2 separate regions of the Homo sapiens genome follow, and region 1 is linked to region 2. Evidence: promoter capture Hi-C in 16 types of primary human blood cells and fetal thymus (Javierre and others, 2016). All regions are on one chromosome and are shown on one strand. Each heading gives the region's core, a stretch centred on a gene start or on the middle of the fragment in contact. The rest is flanking DNA. Distances are from core to core; before and after follow the strand shown. Region 1 holds the start of TFB1M (transcription factor B1, mitochondrial). Region 2 holds the start of LINC02901 (long intergenic non-protein coding RNA 2901).

Evidence for each region. The method cuts DNA at HindIII sites, captures the fragments that hold promoters and counts their contacts. A CHiCAGO score of 5 or more calls a contact.
Region 1: the fragment with the promoter of TFB1M here is called in contact with the fragment with the promoter of LINC02901 in region 2 in 2 of 17 cell types (fetal thymus and monocytes); the score reaches 6.0 in fetal thymus.

The regions. Positions count from the first base shown.
Region 1 is chr6:155,311,433-155,317,481 of GRCh38, reverse strand. TFB1M (transcription factor B1, mitochondrial) reads left to right here and starts at 2,998. Exons shown (of 7, transcript NM_016020.4): 1 at 2,998-3,186. The coding sequence starts at 3,054. RefSeq lists enhancers at 2,184-2,233, 2,784-2,833, 1,915-2,905, 2,904-3,223 and a silencer at 2,654-2,733. The HindIII fragment of the contact is 4,007 bases long and covers 1,537-5,543 here.
Region 2 is chr6:158,865,252-158,871,880 of GRCh38, reverse strand. LINC02901 (long intergenic non-protein coding RNA 2901) reads right to left here and starts at 2,067. Exons shown (of 3, transcript NR_160980.1): 1 at 1,904-2,067. RefSeq lists enhancers at 1,074-1,747, 1,678-1,847, 1,748-2,420, 2,421-3,093 and a silencer at 1,928-2,247. The HindIII fragment of the contact is 6,622 bases long and covers 1-3,491 here.

The DNA.
Region 1 (6,049 bases), core at 1,749-4,248, 3.6 Mb after region 2:
GATTTTACGCAAATTAGAATACTACAATATAGTTTAGCATGAATCATTTGTAGTTCTTCATCTTCACTGACAGGTGGGGCTAGTGATTTCTGTATTAATTATAATATTTTAGCATATTAAAATCTGTATCTAGATGAAGCAGACACTTCAAAGCTTCAAAACTGATGAAACTGCATACCTCTCTTTTAAGGGATAAAACCATTTGCATTAATATGTGAAATACACTACTAAAACACCCCCTGCTGATTTCTTAGGCTTTTGCAGGGAGTTATGCATAATTTTCTGAAAATTAAAAACTGAGGATTAGATATTTATGATAAAAATTGGATCTCAAGAACTATTAAAAACTTGGAAGATTCTCCTAAGCTAGAATTTTTAACTCAGTTAAAAAATTATTTAACACGTATCAGAGGTTAATAAAAAGCACAGTGCAGTCAGAAGATCTAAACTCAGTTACACCACTTACTAGCAAAGCACTGTGCTATGGTCTGAATGTCCCCCAAAATTCATGTGCTGAAACTAAATCACCAATGTGATAGTATATTGACAGGGAGGCCCTAAGTGGGTGATTAATTGATTGAGGTAGAGCTCTCATAAATGGGATTAGCAACCTTATGAAGAGCTGGAGGGAATTAGCTAATCCCTTTTTGCCCTTCTGCCTTTGGACATGTGAGGACATGACATTCCTCTTTTCTGGGGGATGCAGCAACAAGATGCTATCTTGAGGTAAAGAGAGCAGCCTTCACAAGGCAACAAACTTGCCAGCTCCTTGATCTTGGACTTTCAGCCTCCAGTACTGTGAGAAGTACATTTCTGTTCTTTATAAATTACCCAGTCTCAGATATTTTGTTATAGCAGCAGGAATGAACTAAGACACATCTTTGTGAACCTACATCACAGAATTGAAATGAGAATTAAGTAACAAAGGAAGCTGCTTTATAAATAGGTTCAGTTATTGAAGATGGCATGGTATAAACCATCCATAAATTCATATTTAGATCTGGGGACAAATTATCAGGAATCTACAAATTCTCCACGCAAAGGTGTTTCACTCATTTAGATTTTAGTTTGTTTTTATGTTGATGTTAATCTTTTAAAAAGCTCATGTGATTATATTTGGGGTCATCTGAACATCCTCTTTATACCTGTTACACAACGTGTGTGTTCATGGTAGCATTAGTGCCAAATAATTCAAATTCACTTGTTTCCAAGCTACTGAAAACAGATGCAGGCAGACTTAATATGTAGCTTCCATATTCTTCCAAAAGAAAGACAAGCGACAATGGAAAAAAAATTGAACAAAGATTTGGTAATAGTTTGACTCCAGAAAACTAATGAGAACATTCAGTCATTACATGGCACACTGGATCACTGGTAGGCTGAAACTTAAAAAAAAAAAAAAAAGAAAACCTGCCAGTTAGCACTAAGTGTCGTGATTTAACAGTGTTCATCCTTGTCAATTAATAAGACCATTTGTATTGGTTTTGTATATATTTATTGCAATTGTTTTAAATAGTCATATGAAAACTGTAAGCTTATGTTTACACCTAGATTCGTATTTCTATATATTTAGATGTTACAAAATTAACACATATTAACTTAAAAATAATAAGCTGATACTTGAGTGTGGCCAGTGAGATCAGAACTCAGAAAAAACACAACTCAGGTTGTCTTCTCTCTGTACTTTGCTGTCTGACTCTGGGCATTGTCAAATGACCTCACCTCCCCTATTTCTTCACAGCAAACTAAGAATAATAATCTCATTCACATGGGACCATTGTGAGGAGTACGGGAAATAATGAATATAACTGTGAAATAATGCTTTGTCAGGTATACTGTGTTTTGGACGATAAGATATCTGAATCAAGAGTTTGTACTTCCAGTCTACATTTTGATGCCACGTTGGGCAAATCTCCTTACCTCTATGGTAGTCATCACTATTTTTTAAAGCTAGGAGATTATCTCAGTTCCTTTTAAAACAGCTTTTATAGAAGGTGGTTGAGTTTTCCACTGGAATTTCAAAGTACTCCTCATTTTTATATCCATACCCATAGTTGTTTCGTTTTCCATTAGCTTTTTTAAAAACTTACTAATTGAGGAACAGAAACTTTAAAATTCATTTGTGATCAACGCAGCAATGTCCAAACATAAGCAGGGTTAAAACAGCAAAATTCTCCCACCTATCAGAGAAACTTTAATTTTTTTTTTTTTTTGCTTCGTTGTTTTTATCTCGTATAACGGAAAGACAGAACTCATATTTCAGTCTTCTCTCTGTTCTTAGCTGTAATCCTAGCAAATCGAATGACCTCTTTACACTGGCCAATTATTCATCTGCCAAATAATAACAGCCACCACTGATCACGTGGGAGCTTACCCAATGCCATGCGTGCACTATGTTCTGAACGTGCACACCAGGCGATCTCTCTCATTTAGTGCTCACAATTTTGAGGTAGACATTAGCTCCATTTAACTGATGAAAAAACTGAGGCTGAACGAAGTTAAAAACCCATCATGCAGCATCTGCAGAGCGGCGGTTCTAAAAACGCCTCACAGTAAGAAAGAATTGCTAACAAACAGTAGCTTTGCCTCTAAGCACCCGCTTTTCCTCTAATATTCACAGACAGGTATTTAGAACGTTAAAGAGCCGGAAGCCCTTGGGAACTTCAGGGCGGGAGTAAACCGGCTGCACCTCTCAGAGCAACTCCTCCGAAAAACCCCACCCTGTCCAGGCCCCGCCTCGTCCCGCCCTCCTGGGCGCTCTCCCCATAGCCCGCCCAGGAGAAGCCTAGTCCACCCGGCTCTCCCCCGGCTCTCACAGGCGGAAGCCGCCGACCACCCAGCCTGCCCTTCTCGCGGCAGGACTTAGCGCATGCGCTCTCAGCACGCCGGGAATTTCCTGTCCGCGGTCATCGCTTCCGGTGGGATAGGTCTGACCAATGGGGCTGACTCCGAGGCGGGCCTTAGGTCTCGCAGGTTCCTCCCCTGCGCGTTTCTTTCGGAGCGGCGGTGAAGGTCCTGGGTGAGGTAGGGTTGGATGGTGCTTGCCGCGTATCATGGCTGCCTCCGGAAAACTCAGCACTTGCCGTCTCCCTCCGTTGCCCACGATTCGAGAAATCATTAAGTTGTTAAGACTGCAAGCAGCGAAGCAGCTATCACAGAATTTCCTCCTGGACTTGAGGCTGACAGGTGGATGGCTTAGCAGTGCTCCCCGGATGTCTCCCCAGTGTCCGTGGGGGCGTGGGCCGGGGGGTCTTGCACGTCCCCGCGGGCGGGTGTCCAGGCACTGGCGTGCGACGGGCTTTTGGTCAGGTCCTTCGACCTCTTTGTATCAGAACTCCGGTCCCACCGCCCAGGAGACACGTGAAGTGCGTTGATTGCTCACAAAACTCCGCGTTCGGGGGGGTGTAGCCTGCCGGCAGGCTGCATAAATGCCAAGCTCCCTAGGGGAGGAAGGGTTCATGGGTCGTGAAAGGCGCTAGTGAATATTGGAATCTGGGTCACTGTGAAATCAATCATTCTGAAATAGTACAGCACATGCTGACTGCAGTTGCTTTACATGCAGTTTAAAGTTACCAGAATTTAAATTGATGCGAGGATTTTATCAATAACTTGGTGAAAAGAGTATCCCTCGTATGATTCGTTTTTTAAACGTTTACCTGTTCAGTCTAAGCCTCGGGGGCGCTAATATTCATTCATAAGTACATATTACACAAGCAACATTGTGCTAGTGCCGGGGGTAGGATATGGGCGTGAACAAGGCGGTGTTTCCTCGAGGAGCTTACTTTTAGCAAGTTTACATTCCCACACCTAATTGTTTAAAGTTACTTTTTATGAGATATAATTTATGTGCAATAAAATTAATAAGTTTGAAGTGCTCAATTTGATGAGTTTTGACGAATGTATTTATATATTGGTTTAACCACCATCACCATTGCTTAGTGATGTTCTATGAGATGAGGTTGCAAAAATATATTACAAATACGTCTACTAAGTCACGGCTGGAGTACTTAGGTTTTGAGATTTTCATATTTCATTCTATTTAGTCCCACTTCAGAAGTTGAAAAGAGCAGTAAATCACACCCAAAAAGTTCATTTTCACTTAAATGAAGCACACTCCAGAAAACATAAAATGTTTTATTTCTTGGACATGTAGTCTTTATTCTGCCTGTACCAATATGACTTTGGATAAAATAATTTAACTCAAGTTTTCTCTTTTTTTTTTTTTTCTTTTTTTAAGATGGAGTTTCACTCTTGTTGCCCAAGCTGGAGTGCAATGGCATGATCTCAGCTCACTGCAACCTCCGCCTCCCCGGTTCAAGTGATTCTCGTGCCTCAGCCTCCCAGGTAGCTAGGATTACAGGCGTGAGCCACCGTGCCTAGCTAATTTTGTGTTTTTAGTAAAGACAGGGTTTCACTATGTTGCTCAGGCTGGTCTCAAACTCCTGATCTCAAGTGATCCACTCGCCTCGGCCTTCCAAAGTGTTGGGATTACAGGTGTGAGCCACCATGTCCAGTAGTTTCCTCATCTTTTAATTGGAAGAAGGGCCTACTACTTTAAAAGATTGCCCACTCTAAAATTCTTTGGTTCTAGTAATAGCTAGTACCAGCCTTTTCTGCTTGTTATTAGCCACATTCTAAATATAAATCACCATTCTCAGGGCAGAAGTTATAGGTCTGTGTATTTTTTAAAATCCTTCAAATACATTTTCTCATGAGCCTTTATCTTCAGGAGTAAGTTTCAAATTCTAGATATTATCCACTCTTTCTATGGGAACCAGAGTTAACGGAGATGAGGGTACTTAGCTGAGGTTAGAAGCTCAGGCAGAAGAGAGCAAGATTGAAATCCAAGCTCATTGATTTGATAGCGCTTCTTTAATATTCATTTGTATTTCAATGTGCCTGAAAAGTTTGAGAGCAGAGACCTGCCTACTGTTGTAGCTCTCCATTTTAAAGAAGGAGAGTATTAAATTTATTCCATAATGTATCATTCCTGTTCCCTCTGAGAGGCATTGGCTTTAGGATTTATACCTATGTTGAAGTCCATGACCTTGTACAAATAAAACAATAGACAAGGAAACTGAAAAGTTAAGAGAAATGAAATTGGGATAGGAGTCCTTGGTTAACATGTAAGGATTAGGTGAGAATGTGTGTAAATCCATCATAATAGATAAGATGGTCAGTGGATGCTAATTCCCTCCCTGTTAAAAGACTAAACCATTTTTGGATGGCTGAGAAACTAGTTTCCGCATTTTAGCTGACAAAGTTATGTTGTTGAAAACAAGCAAAAATAGGACTGTGAACACCTACAAGAAGTGCTGGTATGTTTTTAGTGACTAAATTTCCACTATCCTAGGAAGACCAGTTCCTTGGATTTCCATATCTCAGAATCACTAAGACCAGCCCATTGCATGTTTTTCCAGATGTGATGACTGGTTGCACAGAGTCAGTACTCTACCTTTTTATGATGTCTTAAGGGCTGCTAACTTGAATTTGATTAATTAAAAAATTAATTTTTCTGTATTAACATGCATGTGTGCAAAGCTTTAAAAACCCTCAACTGCTCAATTTAACTTTTTCCTGAAAATGACTAAGAATTCAAATTTCTGAAAATCTTACGATCTAAGAACTTATTGCCATTGCCATAGTGACCACCACCAAGATGTCTCTAGATAAAAATAAGACTTCAGCACTTTTTGCTTTTGGATTTCACTAGCAATACTGAAGATTCTGAATGTGAAACTAGTATTGCTTATTCAGATATTCAATGTTCAATAACTATAGAAAAGTGCTGCATTCTTATCCAGTCTGTTCTTAGGAGTCGGTTGGTTTCAAATCAGTTTGAAAGGAATTTGCATGGGACAGATGGAAACTACAATATTAGCTAAATTTAAGCTAAGAAACTTTGTCATGATAATCCTGTGTGTGTTAAGGGACTGGTACAGTTCAATGGTGATGTGGTAGCATATTCGATTGCCACTTCATGTTAATTTAGGTAGAGAGTTAAATAGTCAAATAAATATTATACATAAAGGATCAATTGATTGGGTAA
Region 2 (6,629 bases), core at 818-3,317:
CTATCATCCTATGACACAAAAATTCCTTTTATAGGTATATATCCTACTAAAATCAATTATTCATCATACTACATGAATGTTCAGAGCAGCTTTATGCATAATAGCCAAAAACTGAAAACAACCCACATACACATCAATGGTAAAAAGGATAAGTTAACTTAAGTATATTCATGCAATAGAATACTATTCAGTAATAAACAAACTTCAAACTACTGATACGTGTGATAACATGGAGGAATCTTACAGACACTACGGTGGGTGAAAAAAAACAGAAATGCAAAGGTGTCCAATCTTTTGGCTTCCCTGGGCCACACTGGAAGAATTGCCTTGGGCCACACATAAAATACACTAAAATTAACAATAGCTGATGGGCTAAAAAAAAAAAAAAAAAATCACATGGCGGGGCGCGGTGGCTGATGCCTGTAATCCCAGCACTTTGGGAGGCCGAGGTGGTCAGATCACCTGAGGTCGGGAGTTTGAGACCGGCCTGCCCAATATGGTGAAACCCCATCTCTACTAAAAATACAAAAATTAGCCAGGTGTGGTGGCACCAGCCTGTAATCTCAGCTACTCGGGAGGTTGAGGCATGAGAATCGCTTGAACCTGGGAAGCGGTGGTTACAGTAAGCCGAGATCACACCACTGCACTCCAGCCTGGGCAACAGAGACTCTGTCTCAAAAAAATAAATAAATAAATAAAGTCACAAAAAATCTCGCAATGTTTTAAGAAAGTTTACAAATTTGTGTTGGGCCACATTCAAAACCGTGGCCTGTGCGGGTTGGACAAGTTTGGAATAAAGCATAATGCTTGATTGCAATTACATGAAGTTTAAGAGTAGACACAACTCATACTTGGTAATTTAAGTCCAAATGAATAGTGGTTACCTCTGGGGAAGTACTACTGACCGGAAGGAGCAGTTGGAAACCTGGGGTGATGGAAATGTTCTAGATCTTGACCTAGGGGCTAATGACATGTGTATACATATGTAAAACTTCACCCAGCTGTCCTCTTAATTTCTGTGCGATTTATTGTGTGTAAATTATATCAGTTAGGAAAAAATAAGAAAAATGAAGGAATGATGGAGAAAAAAAGAAATGAAGAGAAACGTAACGAAGGAAGAAAGAAGGGAGGAAGGGAGGGAGGGAGAGAGGAAGGGGGGATTAAACCCAAGCACGGAGGGGGAGAGATGCTCCTCAAAAATATGCTATCAGTCATGTAGTGTTATTTATTTATTTATTGAGATGGAGTCTCGCTCTGTTGCCCAGGCTGGAGTGAGTGGCACGATCTCGGCTTACTGCAACCTCCACCTCCCAGGTTCAAGAGATCCTCCTGCCTCAGCCTCCCGAGTAGCTGCCATTACAAGCACACGCCATGGTGACCGGCTATTATCTGCATCTTAAAGATGGGGAAAGTTTGAGGTTTCCTGATGTGTTCAGCGTCACAGACTGGGTGAGTGACTCAAGCTGAGGCTAAAACCCAGGTGTGTAGGGCACCAAAGCCTTTGTGATTCCACCTCCTACAGCTCAGGTCACTTCCTCGGAGAAAGGTGACTCCTAGAAATGCCTCCCACCTGGAACTGATCTCCTCCTGGGAAGAACGTCTGTCTTATCGCCGTCGACCTTAGGCATGGACACCCTTCTGTCCCCCACCCACAACTGTGAGCCTGCTCAGGAGGCACAGCCGCGTTCATTCATTTTAGGCCTCCTCAAGGGCTCAGCGCCTGCTAAGCAGATGCGCGTTCCTGTAGGACAAGGGGTGGCCACTGGAGACGCGGGTGCGACGCAGGCGATCACGCCCTCGGACGACGCTGCGGACTGCGCTTCCTTCCGAAGAGGGAACCGTTGAGAAGAGTGAAGCGATGAGTTATGCCTCACTGGAAACCAACCGCGTCCGTGTGACTCACTTAGAAACTCACTGTTACATATTTGGAGCCTGAGCTGACGACCTTCCGGGTACACGTCAGGCAGAAGCAGGTGCGCGGTGGGAGTGTCCGCCCCGCCCCGCCGGTCGCGCCGGCCCCGCCCCCCTCACCTGCGCGCGCAACCCCACCCCAGCGCGAGGCTCTGCACCGGCCGCGCCCGCCATCCAGCTTTTATATGGCGCTATTTTGGTCGCGCGCCCTGATTGGCCGGGAGCGGGCGACGACACGCTCGCGCGCCTCAGGGAGGGGCCAAGATCTGGGGGAGGGGAGCTTCTGGCAGCCGCGCGGATCCGGGGGCGGCGGGGCGGGACTGCTGCGGTCTCTGGGGGTGCTTTGGGGCTTCTGTGCCTAGTCTGCAATCTGTTAGTGGGGTTATATTTTAATAAAAGAGCTTGTGTGTCCGAAGGGGATTTGCCAAGAACCAAACTCACCCTTCTGGGAGGGAGTTGCCAGATGGCGGGAACAGGCGGCGTAAACCTTACCAGACGTGAGCCCAGGCTGCTCAAGTGTCATTCGCGTCTTGAAGCTCTTGCCCGCCTCCCTTTGCAAGCGCGTCTAATGCCAACTCTACCTTGCCCTTTGCTAAACCAGCCCTCTAATGTGTTATCGTGCCTCACGTCAGACAATGGCTGGGCCTGTCTCTCTTTCCCCTTGGTTCTGTCCTCTGCCCTTCTCTTAAGCCAGAAGAACAAAACACTCCTTAGAATCGCTGGAGGATCTCATTTCCACCACATTCCCGTGTCCGGAGCCGAAGAGCCACGTCTGACCCTCACTGGTCTGGCTGTCCACCAATCAGGCAGCATTGCTTCTCTGAGTCTCAAGGTTATTAAATTTCTTCTGGTGGCAGACTGGTTTTGTACTTTGGTGAAAGTGACCAAATAGGTACGAAGTGTGATTCATCAAAAATTCTTACACTTAAAAAGATAAGCCAAAAGGATCATTCGAAGCCACCACTCCATATTAGATGGGAACTTAGCTTGAAAGGGGTTCTCTTAAGGATTTCTATTTACTTCTTTGAATTACAAATATCATCTCTGGTTGGAAAGCCTATAAACGCCTCTGAGATTTCCTGAGTTCACAACTTTGAAGATCATTTGCAGCTGGATGCAGAAAAAACAAACCTAGTAATTGTTGAATGTGGACATCAATAAGAATTAAGTACTTTTGGCCCAAAGGCAGTGGTTCACACCTGTAATCCTAGCACTTTGGGAGGTCGAGGCAGGAGGATAACCTGAGGTCAGGAGTTCCAGACCACCCTGGCCAACATGGTGAAACCCCATCTCTACTAAAAATACAAAAATTGGGTGGGCGTGTTGGCGCATGCCTGTAATCCCAGCTACTCAGGGCTGAGGCACCGAATTGCTTGAACCCAGGAGGCAGAGGCTGCAGTGAGCAGAGATCATGTCACTGCACTCCAGCCTGGGCGGCAGAGCAAGACTTGTCTCCAAAAAGAACTTTCAATGTGCCAGGCATTTTAAATGCTTAACAGGCATTTCATTTAATCCTCACAAAATCCCCATGACTTAGATACTATTATTATACCCATTTTACAGAAAGGGTCTAGAAAGCTTGCATAACATTGTGTCTGGACTTGGTTCCTGCCAGTGGGTTCGTGGTCTCAGTGACTTCAAGAATGAAGCCACAGACCTTCGCGGTGAGTGTTACAGCTCTTAAAGATGGCCGGGACCCAAAGAGTGAGCAGTAGCAAGGTTTATTGTGAAGAGCGAAAAAGCTTCCACAGCATGGAGGAGGACCCAAGTGGGATGCCGCTGCTGGCTGGGGTGGCCAGCTTTTATTCCCTTATTGTCCCCACCCATGTTCCATTTCTATCCTATCAGAGTGCCCTCTTTTTCAATCCTTCCCGTGACTGGCTACTTTTAGAATCCTGCTGATTGGTGCGTTTTACAATCCTCTTGTAAGACAGGAAAGTTCCCCAAGTCCCCACTGGACCCAGGAAGTCCAGCTGGCCTCACCTCTCAACATGACTCATGCAACACATTAGTACCATGGCAGTGCCGGGATTCACACCCAAGGTTGTCTGACTCCTGTGTGCCCTTAACTACTAAGCTCTGCAGTTTCTTCTTTCCTAACCAGAAACTTAGTCTTAAGCGGGCCCAGAAGGAGTTGGGATCACTACCAGGTGTTACAAATCTTCAGGAAGACATTTGTCCTGCTGCTGGTTTAAGAAAAGGATTGCTACTGTGGGGCGTGGTTGCTCACACCTGTAATCCCCACTATTTGGGAGGCTGAGGTGGAAAGATCACTTTAGCCCAGGAGGTTCAGGCTGCAGTGAGCTGTGATCACACCGCAGCACTCCATCCTGGGTGACAGAGCGAGACCTTGTCTTAAGAAAAAAAAAAAGATTGCTATGTGAGAGGGAAAATAAGGGTGCCTACAGTCTCAACAATCTCCGCTTCCCCTGAGCAACAGACCATATTAAATCTGCAGTACAAAGTTTCTGAAAATGTCTCAGATTCTGCTGTGTTCATCAATTTGGAGAACGACCTGTTTACAAAGTGGCCTCACTTAGATCCACTTGGTTGGTTAGGAACCAGGAAGCAAACCGATCATAAGAATGACTTTCAAACTTTCTTCTACACTTTCTTCCAAAAAGCTACCAGAACTACCTGATAGAAATTCCAAATACAGTAGACCCTGCAGTGGAAACTGCCTTGGAGCCAGGCAGGCTTGGGTTTAATCCCCAGTCCCACCATCCCCCAACCCGTCTCTCTGAAGTTGTATGAATTTCCAAACTTTTATGAACCTCAGATTCTTTATTTGTAACCTGTTTGGCTGAAAGGATTAACTGAGATCTCTGAAGTTCCTGAATTATTGAGTGGCACAAATAGGTATTCAAAAAAATGTTCATTATCTTTTTTGCTCCTTCCCGTGAATGATTAAGAAGAAAAGCACCTAGTCATGACTATTCTATCTTTATTATTTCTCTTACAGAGCTACATTGACTGTACTAAGTTTCATAGTCAGGTAGTAATTTACAGTAAGACTTAATTATCATCCATAACTTTAAATGTCCTTATCAAAACTTCAACGACATCACTTCCAAATACTAGCATTAGCTTTGTGTCTGACATTCATTTAACAAAGTTACTAAAAATCTATTAAGTGTAAGACTTTGGTTATTTTTTAATAGAACTTTCTGAAAACTTTTCAGCAATATAGCCTATTGAGAAAAATGGGTATGTTGAAAAACAAAAACAAAAAGCATGGTTTACAAACAAGTATTAGGGAAATAGTATTTTTATTATTATAACCTGTTCCTTCTTACTGCTCCCAAGCTCCAACTCTGACCATAACTCTTAATGAAAATAATTTGGTCTGGTAAGACTAAATAAATAAAAAAGAAAACAAAGTTTATTGAAAAGCAAAACATTGGGCTGGGCACAGTAGCTCATGCCTGTAATGCCAGTACTTTGGGAGGCCAAGGTGGGAGGATTACTTGAAGCCAGGAGTTTCAGACCAGCCTGAGCAATGCAGTGAGACCCCATCTCTAAATAAAAAAGAAAAAGAAAAAAAGACAAAAAACTAAGAACAGAAAGTAGAATTTAAGAAAAATTAAAGATGTTCCTTTACAAACATAATTCAGAGATGCTTTTCCCTTTTAAAGCCATTCAGTATTTTTTGTCAATTGATTTTGCATCATAGACATGACCCATCATTTTCAACACCGCTAATCAGTCAAAGGGAGACTTTTAAGTCTTCAAGTATAAAGTTGTAAAATGTGCAGTGTGTGTTGCACATCAGGGTAGTGGTGGATACTACTGCTAAAATACAAAATTTGCAAACCATTAGACATCCAAGTAAGTTTTAAATGAGCAGATTTCCAGAAATTTGGAAAGTATTAACAAAATGGTTTGAAATTAAGTGGAACAACTTTTCTAGCTCAAAAGAATATGACTTAGGCAACACGTACTTGACACCCAAACACCTGTGTGGATTAGTTGATTTAGTCAAATGAGCAGCCAGCTCAATAGAAAAGAAATTCATCAAACTCACTTTTTTAGACCACATTCACTTCTGCTTTTAGACTTAGCAATCTTTCATAGCACTTGTATCTAAGTAATGTGAAATTAACATATATATTAAATATGTAAGATCAATTATTGAAAAAACTGATGTTATTAGCTACAAAAATAGTAACATGAACTGAGGATGCACTGTAATAGATGCCGGATGCCAGAGTGGTTCAACATAATCATTTTGATTCTCCTTTTAACTCCTGTCATTGCCAGCAACAGTGATTTAGGTTGTGGTTGGCTCAGATTATCTTTTGCTGCAATAAATTTTTGCTGCAATAAAGGGCTGCTGTTGAAAACCTGCCTGTTCTCTAACTCATTACTGTTGCCCCAATACTACATCTTCTATTAAACAAAACTGAGGAGCCAAACGCTAGCAGGTAGTGAAAATGTCCTCTACTATTGCTAAACAAGTGAACACAGCCATCACCCTGAAACCTGAGCATTCAATGAGAATCTACATTTTAAATGGCTCTTTTGAAGCATTCATTCATCCATCCAGTCGTTCAACAAATAATTCTTGCTTTCTATGTCCCAAGCATGTACATAGGAATAAATAGGAGTAGTTCATGTTTCCTGCTATGGAAGGGCTTGCAGTCTAGTGGAGTGAGAGATGAATAAGCAAATAAGGCAGCTGAGAGCTAATTGCAACCATGGAGGAATTTAAGTAGGTG